Linked DNA regions of Homo sapiens: regions 1 and 3 are each linked to region 2. Evidence: promoter capture Hi-C in human tissues and cell types (Jung and others, 2019). All regions are on one chromosome and are shown on one strand. Each heading gives the region's core, a stretch centred on a gene start or on the middle of the fragment in contact. The rest is flanking DNA. Distances are from core to core; before and after follow the strand shown.

Region 1 (4,756 bases), core at 782-3,281, 68 kb before region 2:
GAAGTACAGCTGGCTAGTCAACAAGCAGCTGATGATACCAGTCTGAAAGAGCTCAGCTGATACCAGAAGAACGGCCCCACTCACCCAGCCTAAATGGCTGATCATCTTAATTATAAACTAGTAAGTTTTGGATGATTTGTTATGCTGCAATAGCTAACTAATACATGCACCAGTGCAGATAGGATGCCAGGATTCAGTGACAGGTTGATTACTTGTTGCCTTCTAACAGTGGGCACCCTCTAGGTACTGATTTCTTCCCCTAATTTAAAGTTGGATGTCTTGAAAGAGAATGTTGGGTAATGCAGAAATACTGGGAGACATGTATGCATGTGATTGGTGTTTATATTCGCACAGTCCCCACACCACAGGAGAAAACAGATAACCACAGCCTCGCAATTAGGGTCAAGGCCAAATAGCAAAATAAGTTTGCCTTTAATCTATTTTCTCTGTATCTAAACACTGGAGTCCAAGAATGTGGGCAGAACTGAAGACACAGAGTTTTTTTCTCCTAAGCTCCATCATCCTATGTTCACAGCCTAATCTCTAAAAGAAAGGTGGGCAACAGGTGGTAAGCAGTGGTTTACCTGTGGTTATTTTATTTCTGCTGCCCTCAGCTCTTTCTATGGCCACTATCTGTTCCAACCTCAGAACTGAAGATAGATGTTAGTAGGGAGAGGCCCTTCCTTCCCCTCTGGCCCTTCACACCATTGACATCAGAGCTGCCATGTGTGGCTCCTGGGTGCCTGGAATGTGCTTGGTCTGAACCGCGATATGCTAGAAAGGTAAAACACAGAGTTATTTTCAAAAATTTAGTTGCAAATATTTATATACTTCATTAATAATTACATATTCCTCACACATTAAAATGATATTTTGTATATATTAGGTTAATTACATTGTTACAATCAATTCAACCTGTTCCTTGTTATTGTTGTTGTTGTTGTTGCTGTTGTTGCAGTCTGTCACTAGGCTGGAGTGCAGTGGCGCAATCTCGGCTCACTGCAACCTCTGCCTCCCGGGTTCAAGCGATTCTCCTGCCTCAGCCTCCCCAGTAGCTGGGATTACAGGCATGCGCCACCACGCCTGGCTAATTTTTATATTTTTTTCAGTAGAGACAGGGTTTAGCCATATTGCCAGGAGGGTCTCAATCACTTGATCTCGTGATCCACCAGCCTCGGCCTCCCAAAGTGCTGGGATTACAGGCGTGAGCCACTGCGCGTGGCCTCTTGTTTCTTTATATTTTTCACCCCCCAAAACGGAGTCTCGCTCTGTCCGCCCAGGCTGGAGTGCAGTGGCGCGATCTCTGCTCACTGCAACCTCCTCCGCCTCCCGGGTTCAAGCAATTCTCCTGCCTCAGCCTCCTGCGTAGCTGGGATTACAGATGTCCACCACCACGCCCGGCTAATTTTTGTATTTTTAGTAGAGACGTGGTTTCACCATGTTAGCCAGGCTGGTCTCAAACTCCTGACCTCTTGATCTGCCCGCCTTGTACTCCTAAAGTCCTAGGATTACAGGCGTGAGCCACCATGCCTGGCCCCTTGTTTCTTTTTAATTTTCTAGTTTGGCTACCAGAAAATTCAAAATTCACGTGGCTCACATTTTATTTCAGAGGATTACCTCCTTTTTAAAATCTCAGGCTGCCTGCTCAAAGGACCGTAAGCCAGGAAAGTAAAAAAACCCTGAAATTTTAAAACATTTGTTATTATATCCTTTTCATTTATGTATAGCCATATGATATAGTATTTACAAATGCATATGACCTTATACGCAAGGTTGAATGCAAATACCCTTTGGGGTGGGCCTATCTCAGCTCAAGGAGGAAGCCCTGCCTGAAAAGGCTGCAGCCTAGGCGGTCACTCTTTCTTCATTCAGCCCAGCATCTAATTACATCTTCTGTCAGTCAGGGCCTGAGAGGGTGGGGTTTTAAACGTTATCCAATCAGCGACGCTGGGCTGGGAACTGTCCAATCAGGCACGCAGCTTGAGCGGAGAGGACGGCTTCCGGGATGTGGCGGGATTTGTCCGCTTCTTTGTCTTTGGCTGCCGCTGGAACTCCGGGTCTCGTCTTCACTGCTCTGTGTCCTCTGCTCCTAGAGGCCCAGCCTCTGGTCCTGTGACCTGCAGGTATTGGGAATCCACAGCTAAGACGCCGGGACACCCTGGAAGCCTAGAAATGGTGAGAGTGCGGGGTCCAACATCCCGAGAGAGGGGAAGGGCTGGTTGGAACCGGTGGGAAGTGGCTGTGGCGAGACTCAGGCCTCCCCGCAGTCAGCTCTACAATCTGCGCCCCGAGTTCTCCTTGCCCAGCTCGGCCTCAGTCGCCTTCAGCCATAAGATGGCGGTTGCGCCGACAGCCCGGCCCCCGGGCGTCCTGTCTCTTCCCTGCATAGTGACTGTGCCCTTGCCTGGAGCCCTCTCTGGGGAATCTCTGCACCCGCAGCGCCGCTTCTCTACCGGATTGTGCAGGGACCGTGGGAGGGTCGTCAGGGGAGAATCCTGACTTGGGGTGCGGGTTCATGAATGGGAAGAGGTTTGTTCCGTGGGGTTCCCAGTTCCTATTATCTCCTATTAAAAGTTAATGGGAGTCACTGCAAAAATATTAAAAGAATTTAATCAAAGAGTGGTTCTAGGCTGGGCGCGGTGGCTCACGCCTGTAATCCCAGCACTTTGGAAGGCCGAGGTGGGCGGATCAGAGGTCAGGAGATCAAGACCATCCTGGCTAACACGGTGAAACCCCGTCTCTACTAAAAATACAAAAAATGAGCCGGGCGTGGTGGCGGGCGCCTGTAGTCCCAGCTACTCAGGAGGCTGAGGCAGGAGAATGGCGTGAACCCAGGAGGCAGAGCTTGCAGTGAGCCGAGATCGTGCCACTGCACTCCAGCCTGGGCGACAGAGCGAGACTCTTGTCTCAAAAAAAAAATTAACTTATTAAATAATTTAATCAAAAAGTGGTTCTAGAATTGTAGAGCACCAAGCTGTGGTTTTTAGTTTGTGGTCTATGGGAGAGGCTTGAAAGAAAGTCTTTTGTAAAATGCATGATGAAGAAAACCAAATTTAGTAATTGGTTAGGTACAGTTACGTGGTTTTTTAATTTGTACATTAAAGGTGAAAATTTCCTGGTTATGTAATCGGAGCTCAATTGGCAGTTTATAGTAGGTGAAGCCTCAATTTTGTTTCTCTGAATTTAGTAATTAAAAATAATGCGCCTGAGTTAGATTTTTTAAATTGAAGTAGGAACCCAGGGACTAGAGAAACCTCAGTCTAATTGCCTGCCACTTAATTATTTTCACACTCCACAGGGAACTGATTTTCTGCTGCATTTTTCACCTGGGTCCCAATCAGGGTCTTAAGTCTAACCCCCATCCCTCATTACTCCAACCTCATTCTTGCTTGCAGTAAGATACTAAATTTCCAATTTCTTCTGGGGTTCCCAAATGCCAGCTTTTCCTCCCTAATTCACATTATCACGTATTTGTGTTTTTTTGTTTGTTTTGTTTTGTTTTTGAGATGGAGTCTCGCTCTGTCTCCCAGGCTGGAGTGCAATGGCGCGATCTCGGCTCACCTCAACCTCCGCCTCCCGGTTTTAAACAATTCTCCCACTTCAGCCTCCTTAGTAGCTGGGATTACAGGTGCGCGCCATCATACCTGGCTAATTTTTGTGTTTTTGTAAAGACGGGGGTTTCACCATGCTGGCCAGGCTGGTCTCGAACTCCTGACCTCAGGTGATCCGCCCGCATCAGCTTGCCAAAGTGCTGGAATTACAGGCGTGAGCCACCGGGCCTGGCCACTTATTTTGTAGTGTACTTTTTTATACCGTATTTTAATTAATTATTTTTTGGCAAGGCATTAAATGGTGCTTTTTTCTTTTCTTTTTTTTTTGAGACGGAGTTTCACTCTTGTTGCAAAGGCACATTCTCGGCTCACCACAACCTCCGCCTCCGGGTTCACGAGGTTCTCATGCCTCAGCCTCCCAAGTAGCTGGGTTTACAGGCATGCACCACCACGCCCAGCTGATTTTGTATTTTTAGAAGAGATAGGGTTTCTCCATGTTGGTCAGGCTGGTCATGAACTCCCGACCTCAGGTGATCCGCCCGCCTTGGCCTCCCGAAGTGCTGGGATTACAGGCGTGAGCCACTGCGCCCTGCATAAATGGTGTTTTGGGGGTTTTTTTGTTTGTTTTTTGTTTTGAGACGGAGTTTTGCTCTTGTTGCCCAGGCTGGAGTACAGTGGCATGGTCTCGGCTCACCGCAACTTCTGCCTCCCGGGTTCAGGCGATTCTCCTGCCTCAGCCTCCGAGTAGCTGGGATTACAGGCATGTGCCAGCCACCACGCCCGGCTAATTTTTTATTTTTAGTAGAGACAGGGTTTCTCTATGTTGGTCAGGCTGGTCTCGAACTCCCGACCTCAGGTGATCCGCCCGCCTCGGCCTCCCAAAGTGTGGGGATTACAGGCGTGAGCCACCACACCCAGACCAATGGTACTTTTAAGAAGGTTTGTTATCTGTTTGTAAATATTTTCCATGAAAAGAAAGCAAATAATAATCCCCTGACACTGTGTTGCAAAAAATCTCTGTGTGTCTTTTCCTTTTATCTTTCTAGGCACAGAGATGTTATCGGAATTTTTTTGGGTCAGAGTTCTGCTTTGGAAAATTTATGGGGTGATGTGTCCTCAGCCACCGTTTAGTTTTTTCCCGGTCCTGGGTTTCAGTATTATCTGGGGATAAACCGAGATATCTGCCATGGTTATGTCAGCTAGAG
Region 2 (4,930 bases), core at 132-2,631:
AGAAATTCTACAGATGTGAAGAATGTGGCAAAGGCTTTAATTAGTTCTCATCCCTTACTAAACATAAGAGAATTCATACCATAGAGAAATCCTACAAATATGAAGAATGTGACAAAGCTTTTAACCACTTCTCAACCCTGCCTACACGTAAGATAATTCATACTGGAAGGAAACCCTACAAATATGAGGAATGTCTCAAAGCTTTTTACTGATTCTTATACCTTACTAAACATAAAATAATTCATAAAGGAGATAAATTATACAAATGTGAAGAATGTGGCAAAGCTTTTAACAAATCCTCATCCATTAGTAAACATAAGATAATTCATACTGGAGAGAAAACCTACAAATGTGAGGAATGTGGCAAAGCCTTTAGCCTGTCCCTCCAATTTACTGCACATAAGATAATTTATACTGGAGAGAAGCCCTACAAATGTGAAAAATGTGGCAAACCTTTTAACCAATCCTCAACCCTTACTACACATTAGATAATTCATGCTGGAGAGAAACCCTACAAATGTGAAAAATGTGGCAAAGCTTTTAACCAATTTTCAAACCTTACTAAACATAAGATAACTCATACTGGAGAAAAATCTTACAAATGTGAAGAATGTGGCAAAGCCTTTATCCAGTCCTCAACTCCTAGTAAACATAATTAATGATGGAGAGAAACCATACAACTGTGAAGAATGTGGCAAAGCTTTTAACCAGTCCTCAAACTTTATTGAACAAAATAATTCATACAGGAGAGAAACCCTACAAATGTGAAGAATGTGACAAAGCCTTTAACCAGTCCTCAATTTTTACTAAACATAAGAAAATTCATACTGGAGAGAAACCCTATGATTGTGAAAAATATGGCAAAGGCTTTAACTAGTCCTCAGTTCTTAACACACATACGATAATTCTTACTGCAGAGAAACTCTACAAACCAGTAAGATGTGACAGTGCTTCTGACAACATCTCAAACTTTTCTAATCATAAAAGAAATCATATTGGTGAGAAATCCTAGAAATGTGGAGAATGTAACAAAGTATTTAAATGGTTGTCACACTTGATTATAGGTAATATTCATATTGGAAAAATTTCCTACAAGTAAGAACAATGTGGCAAAGTTTTTAACTAATACACCTTATTGCACAGAAAATCATTTATATTTGAGAAAAATTGTAGAAATATAGACTGTGAAAAAGACGTCAATATCTGCTCACATCTTACTAAACACCAGAGAGTTCATGCTTAATAAAAGCATGATAAGTGCAATTACTGCCAAAAGATCTTTCAGAAAATATTATCCTTTAAAGTGAAGGAGAGTATTTATATTAAAGATGAACATTACAACCATAAAGAGGGTTGAAGTACCTTTACTTGTATCAGATCTTATTGTCCACATTTTGTACTACAGAAAAACTCTGAAGAGGTCACTCAAACTTTGTTCAACATCAGGGAATTTATATTGGAGAGCTGTCTTGCAAATGTAATAAATTTGGGAAAACAAATTTTCAAAAACTACAGCTTAGAAAACACCAGAGTTTATACGAAAATATATTTTCAAAGGTGTAGTAAAAATAAAAAAAATTTTAATCCAAATTTGTCTATGTAAATACCAGAATTTATAGTAGAAATATATGAGGAAGCGACACTTCGAATATTCTACTAAATGAGAGTTCTGAGTATAGAAAATAAAACTAAAGTTGGTAGAAAAATTATTTGTATATAATGTTAAGAGGAGTAAAAGATTTTTTGTAGAATAATAACTATATTCGGATTATACTTTGTTTCTTGAAAAAATTACAGATTTTTTGAAAAGCAAATGATGTAACTCAACTCATTATTTTCTGCTGTTTCTTCATTCTTATTCACTTGTGAAAGCTTGTGATCATTTGTTGCTGCATCAGAGGTATGAGAGATTCTTCTTCATTAGATGGGCATTATTTATGATCTTTTCTATGGATGAGTAAGAATATTAAAATGTAAGATGCATGGTGAAAATCTAAGTGGAGAGGTTCTTTGTGGTTAACTTATACTATTGAGTGATGCACAAGGTAGGTGTTAAGAGTAATATTCTTTTGCATTATGAGAAAACTAGTATATTATTCATATATTTTACTAATTGTACTTTTTTTATTATACTTTAAGTTTTAGGGTACATGTGCACAATGTGCAGGTTAGTTACATATGTATACATGTGCCATGCTGGTGCGCTGCACCCACTAACTCGTCATCTAGCATTAGGTATATCTCCCAATGCTATCCGTCCCCCCTCCCCCCAATTGTACTTTTATATAATAAAATGCAGTACATTTTAAAAAATTTTAAATTCTGTGTGAAGGTAACTGTTTCAACATTTTTAACATGGTAAATATTATTGTGCATTCAATAAAGTGTTGTTATGCCACAAAGATTAACATTTTCCACCTTACCAAATGGCATACGTAAAAGATGGTAACAATATACTATTTGGTAACATCATGGACTAACATCTGTAGTCATCTCTTTTGCCAGTGGCTTCGAACTGCAAATAAGTTAAAGAATATTGTTCTTATAGGTTAAATTTTTATTTTTATTTTAATCATTTAAATTTATTTTTCTTAATTTTTGTGGGTACATGAGTTTATATACTTATGCCATATATGGCATATTTTGATACACAAATACAATATGTAATAATCACATTGGGATACGTGTGGTATCCATCACCTCTAGCACTTATTTCTTTGTATTAAAAACAACCCAATTCTACACTTTTACTTATTTTAACATGTACAATTATGGCCAGGTGTGGTGGCTCATGCCTGTATCCCACCACTTTGGGAGGCCGAGGCAGGTGGATCACCAGGTCAGGAGTTCAAGACCAGCCTGGCCAACATAGTGAAACCCTGTCTCCGCTAAAAATACAAACAATTAGCTGGGTGTGGTGGCAGGCACCTGTAATCCAAGCTACTTAAGAGGCTGAGGCAGGAGAATCAAGGGAACCTGAAAGGTGGAGGTTGCAGTGAGCCAAGATCATGCCAGTGTACTCCAGCCCAGGTGACAGTGTGAGGCTCTGTCTCAGGAAAAAATATATATATACAATTGTTATTGCCTACTGGTTTATTTTTATGGTTATAATAAAAATTATTTTAAAATGTGCAGTTATGGTTGGGTGCAGTGGCTCACGCCTGTAATCCCAGAACTTTTGGGAGGCCCAGGCGAATGAATCACCTGAGCTTAGGAGTTCGAGATGGCCAGGAACCTGGGAGGTAGAGGTTGCAATGATCTGAGATCGTGCCACTGCACTCCAGCCCAGGCGACATTACAAGACTTCGTCTCACGAAAAAAAAAAAAAAAATGAACAGTTAAACTGTAATTGACTAATGGGTTATTTTTATGGTTATAAAAGAAATCATATACAAGTATAAATAAAATACATACACTTCTGAGTCCTGAGTAGATATCTTAAAATTTTATACATATATATATATTTGAACATGTGTCCTGTCTGCATGGAAACACATACCGACTTAATTTGGGTTAAATATACATTACTCTAAAAGATAAACTTTAGGCGTAAGGAAATTATAAAGTAAGTGAGTTTGTGTGAGTAGAAGTTTGTACTTATTTTCAGAAGAAATATTGGGGAAAAATTATTTTAACAAGGTGACTAGTATAAAACTAAAAGCCTCAAAAATGCTGAAAGCAAATGTATACTCTGCTTTGTATTGAATTTATTACTAGAGTTATTGTATATGAAAGTGTTTCTTAATTTTCATTTTGAGATAGTTGTTAAGGCATAGGAATGCTACTGACTTTGATGTTGCTTTTGTATTTTGAAAGTTTAATAAATTTGTTTAGTAAAATCTTAGGCTTTTCTTTTTTCTTTTTTTTTTTTTCTTTTTGAGATTGAGTCTCTCTTGTCACTCAGGCTGGAGTGCAGTGGCATGATCTTGGCTCACTGCAACCTCTACTTCTTAGGTTCAAGCAATCCTCCTGCCTCAGCCTCACAAGTAGCTGGGATTACAGGTATTGTGCCACCAGGCCTGGCTAATTTTTTACTTTTTTTTTTTTTTTCTATTTTTAGTTGAGACTGGGTTTCACCATGTTGGCCAGGCTGGTCTTGATCTCCTGACCTCAGGTGATCCACCTGCCGCAACCTCCCAAAGTAGTGGCATTACAGGCGTGAGCCACTGCGCCCAGCCAGTCTTACTTAGGTTTTTCTATACTTCAGATTATGCATAGGGATAAAAGATAATTATACAGGAATAATTAACTTCCATTTGTCCTATCTGGATGCTTTTGATTTTATTCCCTAATTCCTTTGTCTTGGATTTGTACTATGTTTAGCAAGACTGACTTTAGTAAGGATGAGTGGGCATCCTTGCCTTATACTAGCTCTTAGAGTAAAATCTTGCAAGGTATCCCTGTTTAATATGTTGTTAGCTGTGTATTTTTTGCTAATATGTGACATTTATTGGCTGAGGTGCCAATAATTTGATCTATAATTAGTTTTTCAGAGATTATCATAAGGGAATGTCAAATTTTGTCAAACTTCCATTGTGCATCTATTCTTTTGTACTCTGCATCTATTTACATGTTAGAGATGTAAAATCACAACTAATTTTACATATATACAAAAAATCATCAGAGACTACTATGAACATCTTTATGCATGCAAACTAGAAAATTTGGAGAAAATGAATAAACTCCTGGATACACAAAACTTTCCAAGATTGAACCAGGAAGAAACAGAAGTCTAGAATGGGCAAAAATGTATAAAACATATGATGAAATTAAATTAGTAACAAACCTACCAACTGTAAAAGCCCTGGATTATGTAAAATCACAGCCAAATTTTACCACATATACAAAGATGGGCTTGTACTACTACTGAATATACTCCAAGAAATCCAGGTGGGATTCCACCCTAACTCATAATATCAATATTATCTTA
Region 3 (4,655 bases), core at 2,155-4,654, 97 kb before region 2:
CAATGCGATACCACCTTACTCCTGCAAGAATGGCCATGATCAAAAAATCAAGAAACAGTAGATGTTGGCATGGACGTGGTGAACAGGGAACACTTCTACATTGCTGGTGGGAATGTAAACTAGAAAAGCCACTATGGAAAACACTGTGGAGATTCCTTAAAGAACTAAAAGTAGGATTACCATTTGATCCAGCAATCCCACAATTGGGTATCTACCCAGAGGAAAAGAAGTCATTATTCGAAAAATATACTTGCACACGCATGTTCATAGTGGCACATTTCACAATAGCAAAATCATGGAACCAACCCAAATCCTCATCAATCAATGAATGGATAAAGAAACTGTGGTATATATATACAATGGAATACTACACAGCCATAAAAAATGAATTAACAGCATTTGCAGTAACCTGGATGAGACTAGAGACTATTATTCTAAGCAAAGTATCTCAGGAGTTGAAAACCAAACATGGTATGTTCTGTTATGTGGGAGCTAAGCTATAAGGATGCAAAGGCATAAGAATGATACAATGGACTTTGGGGATTTGAGGGGAAGAGTGGAAGGGGGACGAGGGATAAAAGACTACAAATTTGGTGCAGTGTATAATGCTCTGGTGATGGGTGCACCAAAATCTCATAAAATAGGCTGGGCGCGGTGGCTCATGCCTATAATCCCAACACTTTGGGAGGCCATGGCGGGTGGATCACTTGAGATCAGGAATTTGAGACCAGCCTGGCCAACATGGAGAAACCCCGTTCTCTACAAAAAATACAAAAATTAGCTGGGCATGGTGGCACGCCCACCTGTAATTCTAGCTACCCGGGAGGCTGAGGCAGAAGAATTGCTTGAACCCGGGAGGCAGAGGTTGCAGTGAGCCAAGATTGTGCCATTGCACTCCAGCCTGGGCAACAAGAGCAAGAGTCCATATTAAATATAAATATAAATACATATATATTTGATTATATATATATTCACAAAAAATACATCTGAGAAAATTCCTAAACTTACTCTAAGAAAGGAAAACTTAAATGAGAATTTCTCACAAATAAAATACATGATTAATATTAATTTTTTCTGAAATCCACCTCTTTTATGCCCTCTGTTAATATTTTCTTACCTTCCAAGTCCTATTAATAAAATGCAATTTACAGTTAAATAATGGAAGTCAACATAAGTGAACAAATCTTTTCAAGGTGACAAACCCAGGGAGTGGTAGTGCTAATTAGAAAACAGATGTGTCTAGACCGGGCGCGGTGGCTCACGCCTGTATTCCCAGCACTTTGGGAGGCCGAGGCGGGCGGATCACCTGAGGTCTGGAGTTTGAGACCAGCCTGACCAACATGGAGAAACCCCATCTCTACTAAAAATACAAAAACATTAGCTGGGTGTGGTGGCACATGCCTGTAATCCCAGCTACTCGGGTGGCTGAGGCAGGAGAATCGCTTGAACCTGGGAGGCGGAGGTTGCGGTGACCCGAGATCGTGCCATTGCACTCCAGCCTGGGCAACAAGAGTGAAACTCCACCTCAAAAAAAAAAAAAAAGAAAAGAAAGAAAACAGATGTGTCTGACTGATATTCACCCACCCCATTCTGCTCACCTTAAGTGCTCAATAACCACCCTCTCAGGAGACATTACACTATGCCCCAGGTGCATTTTACTTTGTAAGTTCTTGCACCATCTCACTTGGGTCAGGTTTTTCTTTGTCTTTTGGGATACTTTTTTTTTTCCACAAAATTTAGAGAATTCAGGGGGCAGAAATTATTTCTGTGTTTTCCCCTCAATACCAGCATCTGATTGGCTGACCAGCACTGTGTCTCCAAGAAATGGAAGCTGGGTTGGGTGAAGACAATCTTAATGTCTCAAGGGGTTAGCTTTTCAAAGGAAGAGTATGCCAGGAGATGCCTCTCAGCCCCAGGGCATCCACCTGCTCCCTTGAGAAGCTACACTCCATACCTCAGGTTGTCCTCAGGGAGAAAAATGACCCAGGAGCTGATATTCACTAGACACTCTAGCAGAAAAAGTCATGATGTGTATCTTGGTTTACTCCAGACAGTACTGAAACCCAGGACCAGGAAAAAACTGAAGGGTGGCTGAAGACACATCACTCCGTAAAGTTTCCAAAGAAAAACCTTCACCTGAAAACAAACATTCTGATAAGATTTCTGTGCCTGAGGAAGATAAAAAAAAAAAAGCCATAGAAATTTCATAAAATACAGTGTCAGGGAATTATTTTTTGCTTTCTTCTCATGAGAAATATTTTCAACCAGAAAACAATTTTAAGTGCCATCCAATGCTTTGTCAAAAAATGATTAACTAAAATACAGTATCAAAAATGTACACTAAAGGAAAAACAGTTGAGAATGTGAATTAGGAAAGGCAAGCTGGCATTTGGAAATGTCAGAAGGAACTAGAAATTTAGTATTTTAGTTTATTTGCAGTTTAAATCTAACTGCAGGCCAGAGTTAGGCTGGAGGAATGGGGCTGGGAGGTACACTTGAGACCCCGCTTGGAACGCATGTGAAAAATGCAGGGGAAAATCAGTCCCCTGTGGAGTGTGAGAATAATTAAGTGGCAGGCAATTACACTGAGGAGGCTCTAGTCCCCGGCTTTCTACTTAACAGCAACAGCTACGTAAATGTACCTAACCGATTATTAAATATAGTTTTCTTCATCATGCACCTTATAAAAAGTCTTTCCTTCAAGCTCCTCCCATGAACCACAAACTACAAAACATACTTTTGTGCTCTACAATTATTGAATCACTCTTTGATTAAATTCTTTAATATTTTTTGCGATGACTGCCACAGATTTTTAATAGGAGAAAATAGGAACCGGGAACCCCACAGACCAAAGCTCTTCCCATTCATGAACCCGACCCCAAGTCAGGATTCTCCCCTGACCACCCTCCCATGGTCCCTGCACAATCTGGGAGAGGCGCGGCGCTGCCGGTGCAGAGCCGCCCAGAGAGGGCTGCAGGCCAGGGCACAGTCACTGCGCAGGGAAGAGACAGGACGCCCGGGGGCCCGGCTGTCGGCGCAGCCGCCATCTTATGGCTGAAGGGGACTGAGGCCGAGCTAGGCAAGGAGAACTCGGAGCGCAGATTGTGGAGATGACTGCGGGGAGTCCTGAGTCCCGCCACAGCCACTTCCCACAGGTTTCAACCAGCCCTTCCCCTCTCTCGGGATGTCGGACGGCACTCTCACCATTTCTAGGCTTCCAGAGGGTCCTGGAGTCTTAGCTGTGGATCTCCCAATACCTGCAGGTCACAGAGCCACAGAGTCTGGGCCTCTAGGAGCAGAGGACAAACAGCAGTGAAGACGAGACCGGAGCTCCGGCTGCAGCAAGAGACAAAGGCCGCGCCAAACCCGGAAGCCGCCCTGTCCGGTCCAGCTGCGTGTCTGAGTGAACTGTCCCCAGCTCAGAGTCCCTGATTGGATAATGTTAAAACCCGCCCCTTCAGGCCCTGAGGGACGGAAGATGTGATCAGATGCTGGGCTGAATGAAGTGTGACAGCCTATGCTGCAGCCTTTTCAGGCAAGGCTTCCTCCCTGAGCTGAGCCAGGCCCACCCGAGAGGGTGTTTGCCTTTAATCTTGTGTATAAGGTCATATGCCCTTATAAATAATATGCTATATGGCTATTCACAAATGAAAAGAATATAATAACCCAATTGTTCTAAAAAAAATTTTTTTTTTGAGATTGAGTTTCACTCTTGTTGCCCAGGCTGGAGTGCAATGGCGCGATCTTGGCTCATCGCAACCTCCACCTCGCGGGTTCAAGCGATTCTCCTGCCTCAGCCTCCCGCGTAGCTGAGATTACAGGCATGCGCCACCATGCCCGGCTAATTTTTTTGTATTTTTAGTAGAGACGGGGTTTCTCCATGTTGGTCAGGCTGGTCTCAAACTCCAGACCTCAGGTGATCCTCCCGCCTCGGCCTCCCAAAATGCTGGGATTACAGGCATGAGCCACTGCGCCCGGCCCAACTGTTCTAAAATTTTATATTTTGTGACCTTCCTGACTTCTGGTCCTTTGAGCAGGCAGCCTGAGATTTTAAAAAGGAGGCAATTCTCTGAAATAAAATGTGAGCCACAAGTTGGGCGCTGTACCTCACGCCTGTAATCCCAGTACTTCGGGAGGCCGAAGAGGGTGGATCATCTGAGGTTCAGAGTTCGAGATCAGTCTGGCCAACATGGTGAAACCCCGTCTCTAAAACAATACAAAAAAATTAGCTGGGCATGGTGGCAGGCGCCTGTAATCCCAGCTACTTGGGAGGCTGGGGCAGGAGAATCGCTTGATCCTGGGCGGTGGAGGTTGCAGTGAGACGAGATCACGCCACTGCACTCCAGTATGGACAACAAGAGTGAAACTCTGTCTCAAAAAAAATAAATAAATAAAATAAAATCATAAAATGTGAGCCACATGTAAATTTTAAATTTTCTAGTAGCCAAACTTTATTTTATATTTTTATTTTTTTAGACGGAGTCTCACATTGTTGCCTGGGCTGGAGTGCAATGGCGCGATTTCTGCTCACTGCAACCTCTGCCTCCCGGGTTCAAGCGATTCTCCTGCCTCAGCCTCCCAAGTAGCTGAGATAAAAGGCGCTGGCCACCATGCCCGGCTAATTTGTAGCCAAACTTTAAAAAGAGTTTAGCTCT

The links. Contacts are between HindIII fragments. The study calls those that stand out against the background at their distance.
Region 1: a contact is called between the fragment with the promoter of ZNF738 here and a fragment that was not itself captured in region 2, in 4 of the 25 tissues and cell types used here (adrenal gland, dorsolateral prefrontal cortex, mesenchymal stem cells and 1 more).
Region 3: the fragment with the promoter of ZNF708 here is called in contact with a fragment that was not itself captured in region 2 in 5 of the 25 tissues and cell types used here (bladder, hippocampus, liver and 2 more).

The regions. Positions count from the first base shown.
Region 1 is chr19:21,356,969-21,361,724 of GRCh38, forward strand. ZNF738 (zinc finger protein 738) reads left to right here and starts at 2,032. Exons shown (of 5, transcript NM_001355237.2): 1 at 2,032-2,175. The coding sequence starts at 2,173. RefSeq lists enhancers at 745-1,302, 2,094-2,393. The HindIII fragment of the contact is 7,981 bases long and covers 1-4,756 here.
Region 2 is chr19:21,425,176-21,430,105 of GRCh38, forward strand. ZNF493 (zinc finger protein 493) reads left to right here. Exons shown (of 4, transcript NM_001076678.3): 4 at 1-2,402. Among named protein-coding and RNA genes, the nearest start is that of ZNF493, 31 kb to the left of the region's middle. The HindIII fragment of the contact is 5,489 bases long and covers 1-4,126 here.
Region 3 is chr19:21,326,006-21,330,660 of GRCh38, forward strand. It overlaps ZNF708 (zinc finger protein 708), which reads right to left and starts at 3,405. Exons shown (of 4, transcript NM_021269.3): 1 at 3,205-3,405. The coding sequence starts at 3,207. RefSeq lists enhancers at 1,348-1,869, 2,958-3,157, 3,198-3,377, 3,262-4,250 and a silencer at 3,497-3,718. The HindIII fragment of the contact is 12,621 bases long and covers 1-4,655 here.